Regions from separate parts of the Homo sapiens genome. Here all the other regions are linked to region 1. The links are contacts of gene promoters, found by promoter capture Hi-C in blood cells and fetal thymus (Javierre and others, 2016). All regions are on one chromosome and are shown on one strand. The core of a region is centred on a gene start or on the middle of the fragment in contact, and the rest is flanking DNA. Distances in the headings are between cores, read along the strand shown. Region 1 holds the start of SDAD1 (SDA1 domain containing 1). Region 2 has its middle 4.6 kb from the start of MRPL1. Region 3 overlaps LOC107986292 (a long non-coding RNA gene). Region 4 overlaps CCNG2 (cyclin G2). Region 5 has its middle 6.3 kb from the start of CCNI. Region 6 overlaps CCNI (cyclin I). Region 7 overlaps SEPTIN11 (septin 11).

Region 1 (2,544 bases), core at 32-2,531:
GCGTTCTATAAAATTGCTTTGGTTAAGCAGAACCCTATTGTCTGGCTATTTTGCCAGACCAGCAACCAGCTACCAGCTGTTAGGCTATGTTTTTTCTCATGTAGTTACAATCAAGACTGTCTAGATTGAAATCTCATCTTCCTCACAGGCTATGAATTGAGGCAGTCAACTTCCCTGAGCTTGTTTCCTCTTCTGTAAAATGTAGATAACAATAGCACCTATTTTAGAGGGTTGTTCTGAGGATTAAATAAGTTAATACAAGTGCTTGGAATAGTGCCTGGCACAGGGTGGGTAATTAGGTTTTTTTTTCTCTCTCTCTAATTCACAACACCCTACCTCATTCATTCAACCCTTATTGATTTTTTACACCTTGAGATTGTAGAAATGTATTCTCCTCTTCGAATTACCAGGATCTGAATTAAAAACTCTGACTGAGGAGTGCTTACAAAGCTTATAACGATGGTTGAATTTTAACGATTAATTGCATTTATTAATGGTCAACATGATCACATTTTATCCAGCCCTCTTTTCCCTTGTATGGGTCACGCTAAGTTGAAACAACCAAAACCAAAATAAAAACATATCTAAAATCATACACATTAACTTATATGACCCTCGTTGCTCTTTTTTCCTCCTAAGAGGGAATAGTGTTATCTAGCGCCACGGTTCTTTTCAGTTTTGTTTTGTTTTGTTTTGTTTTTTATACGGAGTTTCGCTCTTGTTGCCCAGGCTGGAGTGAAATGGTGCAATCTCGGCTTACCGCAATCTCCGCCTCCTGTGTTCAAGCGATTCTCCTGCCTCAGCCTCCCTAGTAGCTGGGATTACAGGCATGCGCCACCACGCTCGACTAATTTTGTAATTTTAGTAGAGACGGGGTTTCTCCATGTGGATCAGGCCGGTCTCGAACTCCCGACCTCAGGCCCGCCTTGGCCTCCCAAAGTGCTGGGATTACAGGCGTCAGTTTCTAATTTTAGACTGCGGGATTAAAAATAAACGATTAATCCTCATTTATGTGCTTCATATGGGTGTCGGAATGACGATACATGCTAACACACGTGAAAAAATTTACATTTCAGATCCTTTCAGAAACGCAAGGCAATATTAAGTAGTAGCATATGCCCAAGGGCGAGGGGCGGGTCGGCGGTGGCTGGCTCTCCAATACACCACAGAGTATTTTGGCAACGAGAGTAATTTTGACACTCTGAGGCTTCCGTAGCATAGCTCGCTTTAGGAACCGCTAAGGTGTCGCCTGCCTAGAGTCCCATGCGCTATTTCCGGTCATACCCGGAAACACGAGTCCAAGCTGCAGCTGGCAGGGATTGCGGGGTGCCGGCCGTCTGAGTTTTTTTAAAACTGCTCGCCGCGAAGTCTGTCTGCAGCCAAAATGTCCAACAGAAACAACAACAAGCTTCCCAGCAACCTGCCGCAGTTACAGAATCTAATCAAGCGAGACCCGCCGGCCTACATCGAGGAGGTGGGAGTGCGGCGCGGCAGACGCTAGAGGCCGGATAGTGGATGGTTGAGACGCCGGTGCGGGAAAGCATGGAGTGGGGCTGGGATCCAGGCTCGCCGCCTATTCTTCTGTTAGGTTCAGGGGTCCCTCCAGAGGAGAGAAGGGGTTGGGGACGGGACATGCCTTAGGGTTCGTTCCCCACCTCTTGAAAATCTGTTGCCCCTTTGGATTTTCTACCTGCCCTGCTGCCGCTGAAACACCTTTAAAACCTCATTTTGTTTTAAGATATTTTTCTTCGTCCGCACGGAAGTGGAGAGAGAAATGGGCCGCACCCAACCACCAACTTCCACGCGGATTTCTCAGCCTCTTTTCAGAAATCCCAAACTTGAATTAGTCGGTAACCTTTGATGAATCGTATGTTAGAATGCTTTCGATTGACGTCCGTTTCTGAGAGCAGGCTGTGTACCCTGGACTGTGCCAGGAAAGGGGGGGGGGGGGTTTCTCAAGCACAACGGACAGACTCGGGAGCTTAGTATATTTAGTTAAGCCAGGATTCAAACTTACCGGAGACTGGCATGACTCGGATGTCAGAATTTGCTTCGGGAAAAGATTAGGTTGAAAAATTAGGCCCTCATTGTGATGGGCTTTGTGTACTGACCTCATGTAAGTTGTGAACATTAGGGGTGTTTGAACCAAGTACCGACAAAACGAAAGTGGTTTTTGATATATTAATCTGACAGGTGCTTCCTTCAGACACTCATTTATCAGACGGGCATTAAACAGGTATCTCTGCTAGGCATTTGCTGCAATTACATGTTTGTGCTTCTACCAGATTGTGATTTGTTCAGTGGCTAACACAATTACTTATTTTTTCATTGCCCTTCTCACTTCCCTCCTCCCCTAAATTTTCACATATATGTATTTTATGAGTGCTTTTTAACACATGGCAATCTCAGTGGCTTAGGTCACCAGTAGAGAAAGCCTCTCCAAGGATCAAGGTAGTGGAAATAAAGAGTAGGAAACAAGTACAAGAAGTTAAGTAACATAGGCAAGGCTTTGAGATGCTTAAAGCATTGTATAGCCATTCGCAA
Region 2 (2,544 bases), core at 15-2,514, 1.9 Mb before region 1:
CAGAAGGTCTTTAGACTGTATTATGGACTTAAAATTCACTTTAAAATGCAACTTTTGATTTCTAGGAAGATTTATACTTTCCAGGAGTCTTGGCAAAATGCCAGCTGCCAGCCTGCTTGGCTAATTTCCCTGGGAAAAGCTAATAAATATTTGTCTAGCCCTGTAACTTACTTGATCTGTGTTCTCTGCCTTCTTCAGCCATCTTCCAGTTGAGTTGGAAACTTCTTTGCAAGAAGTGTCACTTCCCTTTGGGGTTCAAGTTGAAAATGGATTCTCGGCCGGGCGTGGTGGCTCACGCCTGTAATCCCAGCATTTGGTAGGCCGAGGCGGGTGGATCACCTGACGTCAGGAGTTCGGGACTAGCCTGACCGACATGGAGAAACCCTGTCTCTACTAAAAAAATACAAAATTAGCCAGGCGTGGTGGTGCATGACTGTAATCCCAGCTACATGGGAGGCTGAGGCAGGAGAATCGCTTGAACCCAGGGGGCAGAGGTTGCCGTGAGCCAAGATCGCGCCATTGCACTCCAGCCTGGGCAACAAGAGTGAAACTCCATCTCAAAATAAAAAGAAAAAAGAAAATGGATTCTCTTATTAGACAAAAATAAGGAACTCCAAGACATTTCCTATTTCAGTAATGTGCATCAGAATCACTCAGAAGGCTTGTTAAACTCAGGTTGCTGGGCCCCACCCCCAGAGCTTCTGATCCAGTAGGTCTGAGATGGGGCCTGTGAGTATAATAAATTCTCAGGAGATACTGATTTACTGGCCCAGTGACCGTACTTTCAAAACTACTCCCTATGTAATACCATGAAATATTTGCATTTATACCCAATGTTAACTTGGGGAGGAGCTGTTGTTTTGTTTAAAATTTTTATGGTCAATATAATATAGACTATAAACGTTCCTCATGGGATATGTCTCCAGAACCAGAATCTACCCAGTCTTATTTTCTTCCTCTCTACATACAAACTGCTATTCTATGCCTGGGTTTCAACTCCAAACTGTCCACCTGCCAGCTGAGAAAATTTCCAATGCCTGTCTGTCTGCCTATCTGGGTCTTAAGTATTACCAACTCCTAGATTCCCTTTCCCCCTTGTGCTTACTTCGGAATCAGATCTTTTTTTCCCATGAAGAAATGTCTATCTAGGAAAATGTTTTTTTAGTCACAAGGCTGAAAGTTCAGTAAGTGGCAGACTGGAACTCATTTTGTCTTGTCCCCCACACGTGACAGTTTTTATGTCCAAAAGCCCCCAGGAGATTTGTTTAATAGTAGATTGATTTAGGAGATTTAGAACTGTCCAGTGGTGTGTTGGTAAAAGTTTAACAACTGGTTCTCCAGTATAAAAGAAATGAATTTGTACCATTTGTCAATTTCCATGGTGTAAATACTCCCACAAGTAGGTGACTTCAAGCCACCAAACATAAAATCAACCAACTCAAAATTTCTGACAATTTATCAATTGGTTCTTGCATAGCTACAACATACTACTAGAAGATTTCAAGTGCAAGTCTTCAGTAATTTTTAGGAGGCCTAAACCAAACCAATTCATCCTAGAGCCATAATTAAACTTTAATGTGAATTCAAATCACCTGGAAATCTTATTAAAATGTAGATTCTGATTTGGTAGGCCTAGGATGGGGCTTGAGATTCTGATTTCTTTTTTTTCTTTTTTTGAGACGAAGTCTCTCTCTTGTCCCCCAGGCTGGAGTGCAGTGGCGTGATCTTGGCTCACTGTAACCTCCACCTCCCGGGTTCAAGTGATTCTCCTGCCTCAGCCGCCCAAGGAGCTGGGATTACAGGCGCCTGCCACTACGCCCGGCTAATTTTTGTATTGTTAGTAGAGATGGGGTTTCACAATGTTGGCCAGGCTGGTCTCGAACTCCTGACCTCAGGCAATCCACCCGCCTCGGCCTCCCAAAGTGCTGGGATTACAGGCATGAGCCACCACGCCCGGCCTCTGATTTCTAACAGGCTCCTAACAGTGATGTTGATGCTGCTGGTTCGCAGACCACCCTTTGAGTAGCAAGGTCCTAGAGCATATTTGAGAGCAAAACTCACATACCTATCATTAATCCCAAACCAGAACCTTTTAAATAGGCTCCTTCTAATACAGGGAATAGAATAAGTTTAAGTAGATTCACAAATTTCTGGGAGTAAACTCCATTGCCTCCATCTTTCAGCGTCTTTCAATAGAGATACTAAAAATACCATTAGCTTCCTGCCCCACCCACATCTGCTTCTGGTAGAAACTGCCTCCTCTCACATAAATAAAATTCCCCAGCCCAGGATATTTGGATCAGTGGAAGCCATCTGACCCAAGGAAAGCCCACCCATACATGGCCAGTGACCTGCCTTGAAAAGAAAAACTAGATCAATTATTCCTCTCACAAAACCAAAGTTGGGAAAATGAAAGACTGAAACACTCAGGTGGGAAAATTCAAGCTCCAGGGTCATAGAATAAATTCCATGCTAGAACGGCCTTGAAAGGCAATCTGAAACTATTAGGGAACAGAAATGACGAGTGAGTGAAGTTACAGGAAG
Region 3 (2,544 bases), core at 22-2,521, 1.2 Mb before region 1:
CGCCTTCCCCCTGGGTGAGGACCAATGAGAAAGCGTAGGAGCTACTTCAACTCCGCAATTGGTCCCAGACGGCTGCCAGGTGAAACCAAGCCTCTGGACGCCCCAGGGCTTTCTCTTGGGGCTTCCTACTTTAGACAGGCATTTCTCCCCTCCACCCGCTTTTTTTTTTTAACTACATTGTAAAGGCTGTTGAGTATTTTGAGAGAATAATTTAGAGTCACCTTCAAAAAGTGGCTGAATCAATTTCCCTTCCAGCACTTAGACAACATGGAAGATGTTTAGTGTGCCCTAAAGAATTTCAGAAGAAATATGAGTAGCTATTTGGTCAGACACTGGTGTTGAACACAAATATCCTTACCGTCAGACAACGCTGGTATTTCTCATCGCTCACCTGTGCGTGTTATGCATTTATTCGTTCATTCACAAGTATTATTGAGGAGGATGACTCAATGGAAGCAAGGAAGTAACCCAGTGAGGCTTTGGGTTTTGTCTGTGCTTCGCAAACGGCGGGCTAGAAAGTATGAGTATCCTCAGGACTCACATGTTTCTGGAAAGTCATTCCACTTGTACATTTGGGGATAAAAAGATTTATTTTATATTAAGACAATAGTAATCCAAACCAATATAAATAAATGAATGGGAAAAGAGATAAATCTTTCTTGCAGAAAAAGTTCAAATAATATATGTAACTCCCCACTCCAGGAGGTGGAGTTTAATCACCACACCCGTTCCTTGAGTCTGAGCAAGTTTTAGAGAATCCCTTCCAAAGAACAGAGTAGACGAAGGGAAAAGTAATAACTGTATAGTACAGAAACCTCAGCCGGGCGCGGTGGCTCACGCCTGTAATCCCAGCACTTTAGGAGGCCTACGTGGGCGGATCACGAGGTCAGGAGATTGAGATCATCCTGGTCAACACGGTGAAACCCCGTCTCTACTAAAAATACAAAAAATTAGCCGGGCATGGTGGCGGGCCCCTGTAGTCCCAGCTACTCGGGAGGCTGAGGCAAGAGAAAGGCGTGAACCCGGGAGGCGGAGCTTGCAGTTAGCCACGATCGCGCCACTGCAGTCCAGCCTGGGCGATAGAGCAAGACTCCATCTCAAAAAAAGAAACCTCGCAGGCACTATCTTAACCAAGTGATCCAGATTAATATGATCAAAGATAAACCATGTTGCTATTATGTACCCCCTGATATGATGAGAAGAGCACTTCGCTCCCATGGTATGCTTCTTCAAACCCCATACCCCTAACATAATCATAAGAAAAACATCAAAGTCAAACTGACAGCCATTCTACAAAATGCTGACCAGTAATCTTCAAAACAGTTAATCAAGGTTATGGAAATAAAGAAAGACTGAGAAAGTATTACATACCAGAAGACACTATAGAGACGTGATGAGTAAGTTCAATGTCATACCCTGGATGGGATTCTGGAACAACAACAACAAAAAAATCTATATTAGTGAAAAAAAAAAACTGGTGAAATCCAAATAAGTTTGGAGTTCTTAGCAATATACGAATGTTAATCTTTTCGTTTTGACAAATGTACTGTGGTTACATTAGATGTTAACATTAGGGGAAACTAGGTGAAGAGAATATGTTATTCACTTTACTATCCCTCAATTTTTATGTAAATCTAAAATCATTCCTAGATAAAACATTGATTTAAAATTTAAAAAAAGGAAATACATTGTAAAATTTGCATGAAATCTTAAGAAAACATGAGCCTTCAAAGAAATCTTATGCTTATCACAGACTGCTTTAAACTCTACCTTCCCCAGAGTTTCCAGAGGCACTTATCCATTATTAGAGGTATTTAGAGCAAAAGTTTTTGAAAAGCTGCAAGTTTAGCTACATGAATCCCATTGGAGGATAGATGTGAGGATGAAAAGAAGAGAAGCTGAGAGGCCAGCTGGAATCACACTGAGATCTAACCAAGTCTAAGGCAATAGGTCAATGGACAATGAGACACAAATTGACCTAGTTTATTCCTGCGACTGTCACCAGTGCTTTCCGGGAATTTACTGATGCTAGTCCCCTTCTTTCATCTTGAGTGTTCACATACTTGTAGTCAGGAGAAAGGAGATAGATACTCTTCCTTTAGGGTAGCCAGATAGAATCAACAAAATTGCCAAACATGCTGGAGAAGAACTGTTTAAAAAAACCTTTCGGCCGGGTGCGGTGGCTCACGCCTGTAATGCCAACACCTTGGGAGGCCAAGGGGAGTGGATCACTTGAGGCCAGGAGTTGGAGACCAGCCATAGGCAACATGGTGAAACCCCGTCTCTACTAAAAATACAAAAAAAATTAGCCGGTCATGGTGGCAGGCGCCTGTAGTCCCAGCTACTTGGGAGGCTGAGGCAGGAGAATTGCTTGAACCCAGGAGGTTCAAGCAGTGAACTGAGATCATGCCATTGCACTCCAGCCTGGGCAACAGAGCGAGCGAGACTCCATTAAAATAAAAAAAAAAAAAAAGACAAAAAACTTTCTCAAAAATTTAAAACACCTACTATGGAAGACTGGGTAAATAGTGGTCAAGAACACAG
Region 4 (2,544 bases), core at 27-2,526, 1.2 Mb before region 1:
GAGCACCGTAAGTATAAAACTACATAGGATTCAATACACAGAAAGCTTTGCCTATTCTAAGAAAACACTGACCTAAAAACACTCTGGGTCTGTTAATAAATCAGCTATCAAGTATAGTCCTTAGTCTCAATGCAAAGGAATTTAACATTCCTTTTGTTACAGAAACCAATTTGGGTTCCTGCAACAAGGCATTGTTTGGATTGCTGGTAATACACACTTATAACACCAGATACAAAACTAAAGAAGTTAGTGATATGAGAGAACAGGAATTTCCCAAAAAGGACATAGTTCCGCCACCACTGGGCAGTGCTCCAGTTTATTTCTTTTTTGTTTTTCTTTTTACGTATTTTTTTCCCTCCTCCTTCGGAATGCCTTCAGTTTATTTCAACGAATCAATTTTCACTGAAGATGGTTCCAGCTATCACTATCAATAAAAAGTTCAGATAAAAACTAATAAAATCATAACTAAAGCAAAAAGTTATCTGTTACAAACAAAATGCTTCACATGCACATATTTTCACCAGAAAACAGAAGATCTATTTTCTTGGCTTCCCATTTTCACCTAATGTAGCTACATCCTAACCCACTTGTAATCTGGTTTCTACCACTTCCTTCTCACTGCTCTACTGACATTACCTCTGACACACCCAATGACCTTCAATTTTCATTATATTGGATCTCTTATAAAAATTCAATACTCCTGACCACCTCCTTAAAAACCTCCTTCCAGTCTGACAGTGCTTCTACTTGTGGGGATGTACCTTTCTTCACTTGGCTCCTAATGTTGGGGGGAAAGGCCAACGCTGAAAACCCCAGAGCTTCAACTGACCCCTACAAAAAGGATTCCACAGCTTCTTACCGTTTCAACTACTGCTTCTTCATGAGAAATTCCAAACCTCAATCTCTAACTATAGTTTATCTTCTTATTCCAAAACGCCAAACACCTACTAGACACCCACCTGTGTACACAAGCATCTAAAATCATATTGCTCTCATCACAAATTAACTTCTCCCAAATTTCCTGCCAATTATGCTAATATTATATCCACCATTAGGTACAAATCTTGGTCATTCAAGACTCCTTGCCTCATTTCCATGCTTGGCTTCCAAAACCACTGTTTGAGTTGGACAGCCTTACTCCTGCTTGTGACTACCACCTAGACATTGTACCTGTAAGTCTACCCTAAAATGACTTTTATATCTGTCTAGTCCACCAATTTCTTGGCCGTTAAGCCTTCGCTGAAACTTTCACTGTCAAAGATTCTTTTGCTCCAAACAGGCTCCCAGTCATAGTGTTTCTCCTAGTCTGCCCTATTTCTTTGCTTAAAAAAAACCCAAAGTAAGCCGGGCACAGTGGCTCACGCCTGTAATCCCAGCACTTTGGGAGGCCAAGGCAGGTGGGATCACTTGAAGTCAGGAGTTCAAGACCGGCCTGGCCAACATGGCGAAACCCCATCTCTACCAAAAATATAAAAATTAGCCTGGCATGGTGGTGAGCACCTGTAGCCCCAGCTACTCGGGAGGTTGACGCAGGAGAATCACTTGAACCCGAGAGGCTGAGGTTGCGGTGAGCCAAGATCATGCCACTGCACTCTAGCTTGGGCAACAGAGCAAGACTGTCTCAAAAAAAAAAAAAAAAAAAAAAAAAATCCCAAAGTACTCTCTATATTCACTATTACCTGGCACCAAGACACAATAACAAATGACAGAACACACCACTTCATGTTAAGTTCCTCATTTCCCCAACTAGACTGAGAGTTTAAGAAAAAGTATTGTGCTTTTGTTTTATATCTCTTTGTGATGGTAAGACTTACTTTTACTTAGCTGGCCTAAAGGATTTGAAAAGACATTCGGGTTTAAAACATCAACATTGCTGGTGTTAATTGATGCTGCTGCTAATGGGATGACAGTTCAGTCCTACAGGTGTGATGGGATCCCATCCTATCCCATTAGTGTTTGTTCTGAGTCTACTACCTAGTATGCATTTCAGAACAATGCATATGTGGCAATGTAACAGCTGTACTATCATATGGCATGATTACTACAGAAGGGGCACCTATATGCAGAAAGAAGCTGAGCTAAGTGACCAGGTTCCCTTCCGGATTAATACTGTCTGGGTCAAAGCTGCATTTTGAGAACTTTAACACTAGAGATATAAGAAAAAAAACAAGTGTAAAAGTTAAGAGTCCCATAAAGTATTACTTAATGTTTAAGTCACCACAGAAAAAAATAAACATCAGGAAAAAAATTTGCCTTAAAGAATAATGACTGTAATTACCTTGGAATGTTTTTTAACTAGCAAGAGAATTTCCAGTAATTCAACAGATTTCAAAGTTTCCACTTCCAAATTGAGAAGGCACAAGGCTAATACAGATGGCTGTAAGAAAAAAGAAAAAAAAGAAAAATATTTTTTAAAAATTCAAAATACAAACTGTGAGATATATACATAAGCAAGGAATCGACTTACTTTTGCTTTTGAAAAGATGAGTCGGCAGTTGCAAGCTTTCAGCTGAGCTTCTAGTTTATCAAGGCTCAGTATTTCTT
Region 5 (2,544 bases), core at 27-2,526, 1.1 Mb before region 1:
AAATATGAGAAACCTAAAGCTAGTTTATATTGAGTGTTGGCCCAAGTTTAGAAAGCAGCTTGAGGCTGCAGCAGAGCCGCGCGGGAAGTGCGGCGCCATCACTAGAGCGGAAGCTGTAGGTGCGTTGTGGGAAGCACTTTATTGTCCAAAGCCAAACCGCCAGTGTGATGAAACTAACCTACAAGAAAAGGGCTGGGTTTTGTAAATGACACAGGCTCTAAAAAGCTTGGAAGCACTGCAACTTTTGGCAGGAATCAGGGTTAGCAGGACCTCAGTGTCTCAATGCTGCTAAGTGCAGGCTGGCTCTCTGGGTCCTCCAGCGTGAGCTAGAACTGATGTCTCTATGGTCAAGTAAACAGAGTGAGTGCTGTCTTCCCCATGTGGTGGGGTTGTGCCAGATCAGTAGCTGCTACACTAGAAAGACGGTGGATCAAGGGCAAAGAAAAATCCCTTTGGTTCCAGAAAATCTCCTGAAAAAGGTGAAGGCTTATCAAGCCCTCAAAGCCACCCAGGCAAAGCAGGCACTTTTGGCAAAGAAGGAGCAAAGGAAAAGAGCTCAGGTTTAAGCGACTGGAATCATTCCAACATGATTCCTGGTGGCAGAAACATGACAAGCTGCTTCTCAGACAACTAGAAGTGAAACCTCATGCCTTGGAATTGCCAGATGAACATTCCTTGGCCTTTGTTGTGTGCATCAAAAGGATTGATGGTGTGAGTTTACTGGGGCAGAGAACCATTGCAAGACTTCGCCTAAAGAAAATTTTTAATGGTGTCTTTGTAAAAGCCACCCCCAAGAACCTAAAAATGCTGCGTATAGTGGAACCTTATGTGACCTAGGGATTTCCAAATCTGAAGTCTGTCCAGGAATTTTGAATTTTGAAACGTGGACAAGCCAAGGTCAAGAATAAGACCATCTCTCTGACAGAAAACACAGTGATTGAGGAGCACCTGGGGAAGTTTGGTGTCATTTGCTTGGAAGACCTCATTCATGAAACTGCCTTCCCAGGGAAGCATTTCCAGGAGAGCTCATGGTTCTTGTGCCCTTTCCACCACTCAGTGGCCCGTCATGCTACCAAAAATAGAGTGGGCTTCCTCAAGGAGATGGGCACAGCTGGCTATCAGGGTGAATGCATCAATCAGCTCATCCGCCAGCTGAACCAGACCCAGGTGCCAAATGGCAGTAAATTTTTGTCAATGAAGTGGAAGCATGTGTTTTTGCTTTTTTGGAAATTTTTATCAAGTATCTTCAGAGAAGATTATTTCCTGCCTTATCTTCAAACACTGGAAAGGAAGGGTCAGAGACAGTAGCTGGCCGGAACAGTGGTTCACGCCTGTAATCCCAGCACTTTGGGAGGCTGAGGTGGGAGGATCACCTGAGGTCGGGAGTTCGAGACCAGCCTGACCAACATGGAGAAACCCTGTCCCTACTAAAAATACAAAAATTAGCTGGGCATGGTGGCACATGCCTGTAATCCCAGCTACTCGGGAGGCTGAGGCAAGAGAATCGCTTGAACCCGGGAGGCAGAGGTTGTGGTGAGCTGAGATCACGCCATTGCACTCCAGCCTGGGCAACAAGAGTGAAACTCTGTCTCAAAAAAAAAAAAAAAAAAGAAAACAAAAGACAGTAGCTTAGGTTCATGGCAAGCACCTCTCATCACAGTCCAGTTCCAAGGAAAAATTTCAGCGTTTTCTACATTGGCTGTCGCCTCATCTGAAATCAGCATATTCCATGGAAGAAGGAGTCCTGCTTTTGTTGCATCTTCTATCCTAAGGTTTAATGTTGGTAAATGAGTAACTCTAGCATTTGTACAAGGTTCCCTAAGACTCCTGCAGCAGTCGACCAAGCCCAGGGACACAATTGAATCTGGAGATTCCTGGGGCCTTGTTTTGAAAAAGACTTGAAATACACATAGGAAGAAAGGCACAAAAATAAATGTTCACTTGTCTCTTAAAAAAAAAAAAAAAGGCAGCTTGAGGCTTCCTTGACTTATTCCCTCTGAGCACTTTCCCCACTTAATATTAAGGAGGAGGTCTTTATATTATTTGGTGAATGGGGACTTTTTTTTCTCTTAATATCTTGATGCCAAGTTGGTTTGGGACATTTACTCCTCTTACATTCTATCTCTGTATAGATAAATGAAAAATATTTTAGAAGTTGTTAAAAGAATCCTAAAGTGTGGGCAGATGCTAAGTGATTATGACAGTAAATAATTTCCTTTGTTCTTGTAGGCTTTAACATCTCTCCTACAAGATAGTACCTTCATAAATTGTCTTGTGGAAACATTATCTAAAAATTTCATTTAGGACAAAGGAGAATAGAAGCTTCTGTCATTAAACATGAAACAGCCTTGCTTTCTTTACTCCTAAAAATGTAGGCAGTATTTCTAGAAATATTTAATGATAGCGAACCACTTCCTGGCCATCAATTTGATTCCCTTCCATTTTCCTAGACTTCTGAAGAGGTCTCACTTTACACTATTTTGCATTACAGAACAGTCTTTATACTTCCTTTTTTTTTTTTTTGACACAGGATGTCACTCTGTC
Region 6 (2,544 bases), core at 25-2,524, 1.1 Mb before region 1:
ACAGCTTTTCTAGTCATTCTCAACTGGAGTTTAGATTTGCTGCTTCCTACTTCATCAAAGCCAAAAGGAAAAATTTAATTTTTTTTTTTTTTCTGAGACAGGGTCTTGCTCTGTTGCCCAGGCTGGGGTGCAGTGGCTCCATCACAGTTCACTACAGCCTCTATTTCCCAGGCTCAAGTGATCCTCCCACCTCAGCCTCCCAAGTAGCTGAGGTAACAGGCACGCACCACCATGCCTAATTTTTTTATTTGTGGAGATGAAGTCTCACTGTGTTACCCAGGCTAGTTTCAAACTCCTGGGCTCAAGCAGTTTTCCTGCCTTGGCCCCCTACAGTACTGGGATTACAATTGTGAGCCATGCCCAGAAATTTAATTTTTAAAAAAATGTTGAACGTTTAACAGGTGTAATGAGATGCTGTGGGAACATAGGAAGGTACTCAGCCCAACTTGAATTATCAGGAAAAGTATCTGGCGGGGAGTAACATCAAAATAGCTCTCAAGAGATACATAATAAGGCAGGTGAGAGAGAAGGGAGTGCGTTCCAGTCAGTAGGAGCAATATGAACAAAGGAGCAGTAACGTAAAATACCAGGGGCAAGGAAGGATCATCAGTAGAAGTTACTATTACAGCATGAAGTTTAAGACAGAAAGTGATGGAAGATGTCCGAGGTTAGAGAGGTAGGTCATAGCCGGGCATGGTGGCTTGCACCTGTAATCTCAACACTTTGGGAGGCCGAGGCGGGTGGATCACAAGGTCAGGAGATCGAGACTATCCTGGCTAACATGGTGAAACCCCGTCTCTACTAAAAATACAAAAAATTAGCTGGGTGTGGTGGCGGGTGCCTGTAGTCCCAGCTACCCAGGAGGCTGAGGCAGGAGAATGGTGTGAACCTGGGAGGCGGAGCTTGCAGTTAGCCAAGATTGCGCCACTGCACTCCAGCCTGGGTGACAGAGCAAGACTGTCTCAAAAACAAAAAACAAAAACAACAACAACAAAGAAGAGGTAGGTCATAGATTTGTATGCCATGCTGGGGAATTGTACTTAATCTTTTAGGTAATGGTGAACCTTTTAGAGTTTAAAGCTGGGGAGGTTGTATATTTTAAGGAGAAGACTAGCAGCATGTGGAATATAATATATATACAGAATATATATTAATAGCAGTCTATATTTTACCATGTTTGATCAATCCATTATAAATTCTCTTTAGGATTATTTGTTCAACTACTGAATCCTTCTAATCCTATTTAAGCAGTCCATATGAGAAACAGTTCACCTGATGGAATCAGGAAATACTGTTTTGGGCTTTTTCTTTTTCTCTCTCATTCTTTATTTTAGAGGAATAGGAATGAAATGAATTAGGCGCAGAACTTACTATTTGTAATGCTGTCATGATGATATTACTGTTTAGTACATATTTGAATTGATTTGAAAAAGTGACCTTAGACTCAGTATTACTTCAGTTAAATTGAGTCTTCTTAAACTGTTATCTTTTGGATTTTAAAAAAATTATTGCTGGTTTTGGCTAGTGATGATAACATTGGCTATGCAGGAATGCTTTTCTTGGCCCTGTTGTTAAATTTTACTATCTGGTATATGGGCCAAACATAGTGGCTTACACCTGTAATCCCAACACTTTGGGAGGCCGAGGTGGGAGGATTACTTGAGCCTGGGAGTTGAAGACCAGCCTGGGTAACATAGTGAGACCTCGTCTCTACAAAAAAGTAAAATTAGGCCGGGCGCAGTGGCTCACGTCTGTAATCCCAGCACTTTGGGAGGCTGAGATGGGTAGATCACTTGAGGTCAGGGATTTGAGACCAGCCTGGCCAACATGGCGAAACCCCATCTCTACTAAAAATACAAAAATTAGCCAGGCGTGATGGCACAAGCCTGTAATCCCAGCTACTTGGGAGGCTGAGGCAGGGAGAATTGCTTGAACCTAGGAGGCGGAGGCTGCAGTGAACTGAGATTGAACCACTGCACTCCAGCCTGGGTGACAGAGCGAGACTCCATCTCAAAAAAAAAAAAAAAATTAGCCGGGCCTGGTGGCACGTACCTCTGGTCCTAGCTACTTCAGGATGCTGAGGTGGGAGGATCACTTGGGGCTGGGAGGTCGAGGCTGCAGTGTGCCATGGTTGTGCCACTGTACTCCAGCCTGGGTGACAGAGCAAGACCCTGTCTCAAAAAGTATATGGAATATTAAAGTTCAAAGATATTGTCATGATTTCTTTCATGACTAATTGTTAACAGTGTTTAAAATAACTTCATAGATAATGTTTTGTAAATTTGTTTTTCTGACATTATTAGAGAATTGGGTAGTTTAGAGGTGGGAAAGGAGAACTAATATTTGAGTACGTTTGCATTCCATATATATGCTTTACATTAGTTATGTCATTTAGTTATAACTATATGATAATCTCCATATAACTGTATTCTCTTTTTTTGTATGTTACCTTTGTGATTCTTCTTACAATTGTATGTTTCTGTTATTGTTTAATGCCAAACACCAAATAGTGACATTATTTAATGTAATCTGTCATTCAGGGAT
Region 7 (2,544 bases), core at 27-2,526, 1.0 Mb before region 1:
CTTTCCCCTACCGTCCCCTGCAGGAGCCAGGACAGAACTCTCAGACATGTTCTTAGAGCTGATTTTGGAGACAGGGCTGGGGAGGCACTGAAGAGAAGCCAGAATAGTAATTGGCCTGCGATTACAATTTAGCATACTTTTCAATAGAAACCCAACAAATTGCCAACAAATTGCTATGCTAATGAAGAATTGCCCTGCTCTGCAATGAGCATTTATCATGAGAGAAAGGACAACCCATTCACGCCACTCTGTAGAACTAGCTGCCATTCGGGAGGTCTCCTGCTGAATTTTAAAAGGCTTCACGTAGGGAAAAGGGGAAAGCATGAGATGAGAGTTGGCTGTGTTCTCTCCAGTCTTTCTCTTATCCAGTGCTTAAGATACAATGCCAGGGAGCAAGTTGGTGTAGCGTGCCTGCCAATTGTGGCTTTCTACTAATGAATGCCCAGCACAGAGGCTACATGCAGTAGAGTCATCAAGAAGTTCAAGAAGTTTTTAAAAAAGAAAAATATCTGCACTCCCCCCAACTTCCATAACTGACAAATAAGCAAATGGTGGTTCTCACATTGAACACACACCTTTTCTAAATTCTCTTTGCTTTACTTGGACAAGAAAAGTAAGTCTGACACATTCTGCCAAGCTTAGGGAAAAGACAGTCCACTTGGCTACATACAGAATTCTTTGATCTGTCTCAAAGTGATGTCTCAGAGGGAAATGCCCAGAGGACAATGCCAACAGATCAACACAGCCCAAACCACTTCACTGCTGTTTCACCTGCCATTCATCAGGCGTGATGGGGAGAGAGAGGAACAGCCATCTGTTCCACACACACTTCTCCTTCAAACTAACAGGAAATTTATATTTTGATTTTCTTTATCCCCCTTCCTTTCCACCTTCCTCTTCTTAGTCCAAAAAGGATATGGCATACAAAAAATTAGCTGGGCATGGTGGCTACTGTAATCCCAGCTACTCAGGAGGCTGAGGCAGGAGAATTGCTTGAACCTGGGAGGCAGAGGTTGCAGTGAGCCAAGATCGCCCCACTGCACTCCAGCCTGGGCAACAGGGCAAGACTCCTCAAAAAAAAAAAAAAAAAGATATGGCTAGAGGGGTGAAGAAAAATACCAAGGCAGAGGCCTAGTCCAAAGTAAAATGTTTAAGGGATCTTAACAATATTGTAATGATCAGTTGCTTAACTGTGTGACAGAAATACTAATAGTAATTTGAGTAACATGACAAAACATACAACGCATTTACCTAAATACAGCTCTCAATCTTTATAACTTGTGACATGTATAAGGCAGATATTTTGCCTTGTTTTACTGATGAAAGAAAGAGAATAAACATGTCATTCTTATTTCACTGAAGCATGTCTCTCCGACAGTTACCTGTCAATATCTAAGGATCAAATTTCTTGCTGTGGGGTGATGAATAACTTACCAACACAAAGGATGTTGAAACAGAATCCTTGAGAAGTAGACTTGTTGACCAGCTGGTCAGGGAGGCTGTCAAATCCCACATGGCCAGACAAAGACAAGTTTCGAAGCTCTTCATTCTGCAATTTCAGGGGAGAAAGATTTGAGTGTCCATGAACCATGCCACCTGGATATCACATATCACAAACATTACATTCTTTCTTCTTCTTCCCTTGACATACATGGAAAAAGGAGACCCTCCACAGCTGCCTTGGCTTCTACACAGCTGAGGGCACTAACAACTCCAAAGCCAAGCTCTTTCCACAAAAGTCACAGTCTCCCAAAGCAGACCATCTCCCTGAGCATCTCATTCCTTGTTACAAGTGTACTGGTCCAGGGAAATTTGAGCTTCTAGAGGTGACTATTTCAGATATGCATTAAGTGACCAAAAAAACACAAAAACCTCCAGTCATTTTGATCACTTTCATTATTCAAGAAAAGCTTTCAATTTACTGTCAACTCATAGTGAAAAAATATTTAACACTCTTCCAGATACATAAAAGAACTTTGAAAAGCTCACAGTGGAGGATTCATACTCCTTACAATGATGACAATGCTCTACCTACCATAAATGCAGCATATTTAAAACTTCTCAGCACATGAGCTGGTTTCCTCTCCTCCATTAGTTTTACAGGTTTCTTGAGTCTTCTTCCCCCTCTTCACCCTGTAGCTCCTAGCACAGGCTCTGTAACTGCTGGAGTTTTGCAGAGTTTACCGATGTAGACTAGGGTAAGGTAGTTATCATACATTTTAAAATCACATAGGATATGGCTGGAAGCTAAAGTAAAATCACTGGGTGATTTATGCTGTTATATAAAATGGTACTGGCTGCCCCCACAACTTTGAATGCATCCCGTGGGTGTTGGAGATAATCTGTGAAACCTTTTTTTCTCAAGATGCAGAGATCAGCTACAGTCCCTCAGTTATAATATCATGGTTATGGTTTGCAATTTCAGAAATTAGACACTGAAAGTCTTCTCCTTGGAGACAGGACTCCTAGTGTTCTGGCTGTGTTGTCAATGAACTTTATATTCAAAATACTGGAGTCCAGGTGAGAAAATGATCCTCAAAGCTC

Evidence for each region. The method cuts DNA at HindIII sites, captures the fragments that hold promoters and counts their contacts. A CHiCAGO score of 5 or more calls a contact.
Region 2: a fragment that was not itself captured here is called in contact with the fragment with the promoter of SDAD1 in region 1 in 1 of 17 cell types (monocytes); the score reaches 7.7 in monocytes.
Region 3: a fragment that was not itself captured here is called in contact with the fragment with the promoter of SDAD1 in region 1 in 1 of 17 cell types (fetal thymus); the score reaches 6.2 in fetal thymus.
Region 4: a fragment that was not itself captured here is called in contact with the fragment with the promoter of SDAD1 in region 1 in 1 of 17 cell types (total CD8 T cells); the score reaches 5.9 in total CD8 T cells.
Region 5: a fragment that was not itself captured here is called in contact with the fragment with the promoter of SDAD1 in region 1 in 4 of 17 cell types (total CD8 T cells, activated CD4 T cells, fetal thymus and 1 more); the score reaches 8.1 in total CD8 T cells.
Region 6: a contact is called between a fragment that was not itself captured here and the fragment with the promoter of SDAD1 in region 1, in 1 of 17 cell types (non-activated CD4 T cells). The highest score is 5.5, in non-activated CD4 T cells.
Region 7: a contact is called between a fragment that was not itself captured here and the fragment with the promoter of SDAD1 in region 1, in 1 of 17 cell types (fetal thymus). The highest score is 5.3, in fetal thymus.

The regions. Positions count from the first base shown.
Region 1 is chr4:75,989,682-75,992,225 of GRCh38, reverse strand. SDAD1 (SDA1 domain containing 1) reads left to right here and starts at 1,281. Exons shown (of 22, transcript NM_018115.4): 1 at 1,281-1,474. The coding sequence starts at 1,385. All of the region lies in intron 1 of SDAD1-AS1 (SDAD1 antisense RNA 1), which reads right to left. The HindIII fragment of the contact is 958 bases long and covers 453-1,410 here.
Region 2 is chr4:77,857,005-77,859,548 of GRCh38, reverse strand. No RefSeq gene overlaps it. Among named protein-coding and RNA genes, the nearest start is that of MRPL1, 4.6 kb to the left of the region's middle. The HindIII fragment of the contact is 3,300 bases long and covers 1-2,544 here.
Region 3 is chr4:77,191,095-77,193,638 of GRCh38, reverse strand. LOC107986292 (a long non-coding RNA gene) reads right to left here. Exons shown (of 4, transcript XR_001741742.1): 4 at 1,066-1,428. Among named protein-coding and RNA genes, the nearest start is that of CCNG2, 35 kb to the right of the region's middle. The HindIII fragment of the contact is 2,729 bases long and covers 1-2,544 here.
Region 4 is chr4:77,161,482-77,164,025 of GRCh38, reverse strand. CCNG2 (cyclin G2) reads right to left here. Exons shown (of 8, transcript NM_004354.3): 5 at 2,468-2,544; 6 at 2,279-2,377. Among named protein-coding and RNA genes, the nearest start is that of CCNG2, 5.5 kb to the right of the region's middle. The HindIII fragment of the contact is 2,457 bases long and covers 48-2,504 here.
Region 5 is chr4:77,081,013-77,083,556 of GRCh38, reverse strand. It overlaps the pseudogene RPL7P17. Among named protein-coding and RNA genes, the nearest start is that of CCNI, 6.3 kb to the right of the region's middle. The HindIII fragment of the contact is 2,097 bases long and covers 228-2,324 here.
Region 6 is chr4:77,060,110-77,062,653 of GRCh38, reverse strand. All of the region lies in intron 2 of CCNI (cyclin I), which reads left to right. Among named protein-coding and RNA genes, the nearest start is that of CCNI, 15 kb to the left of the region's middle. The HindIII fragment of the contact is 3,762 bases long and covers 1-2,544 here.
Region 7 is chr4:76,995,430-76,997,973 of GRCh38, reverse strand. It overlaps SEPTIN11 (septin 11), which reads right to left. Exons shown (of 10, transcript NM_018243.4): 2 at 1,435-1,549. Among named protein-coding and RNA genes, the nearest start is that of SEPTIN11, 47 kb to the right of the region's middle. The HindIII fragment of the contact is 1,273 bases long and covers 640-1,912 here.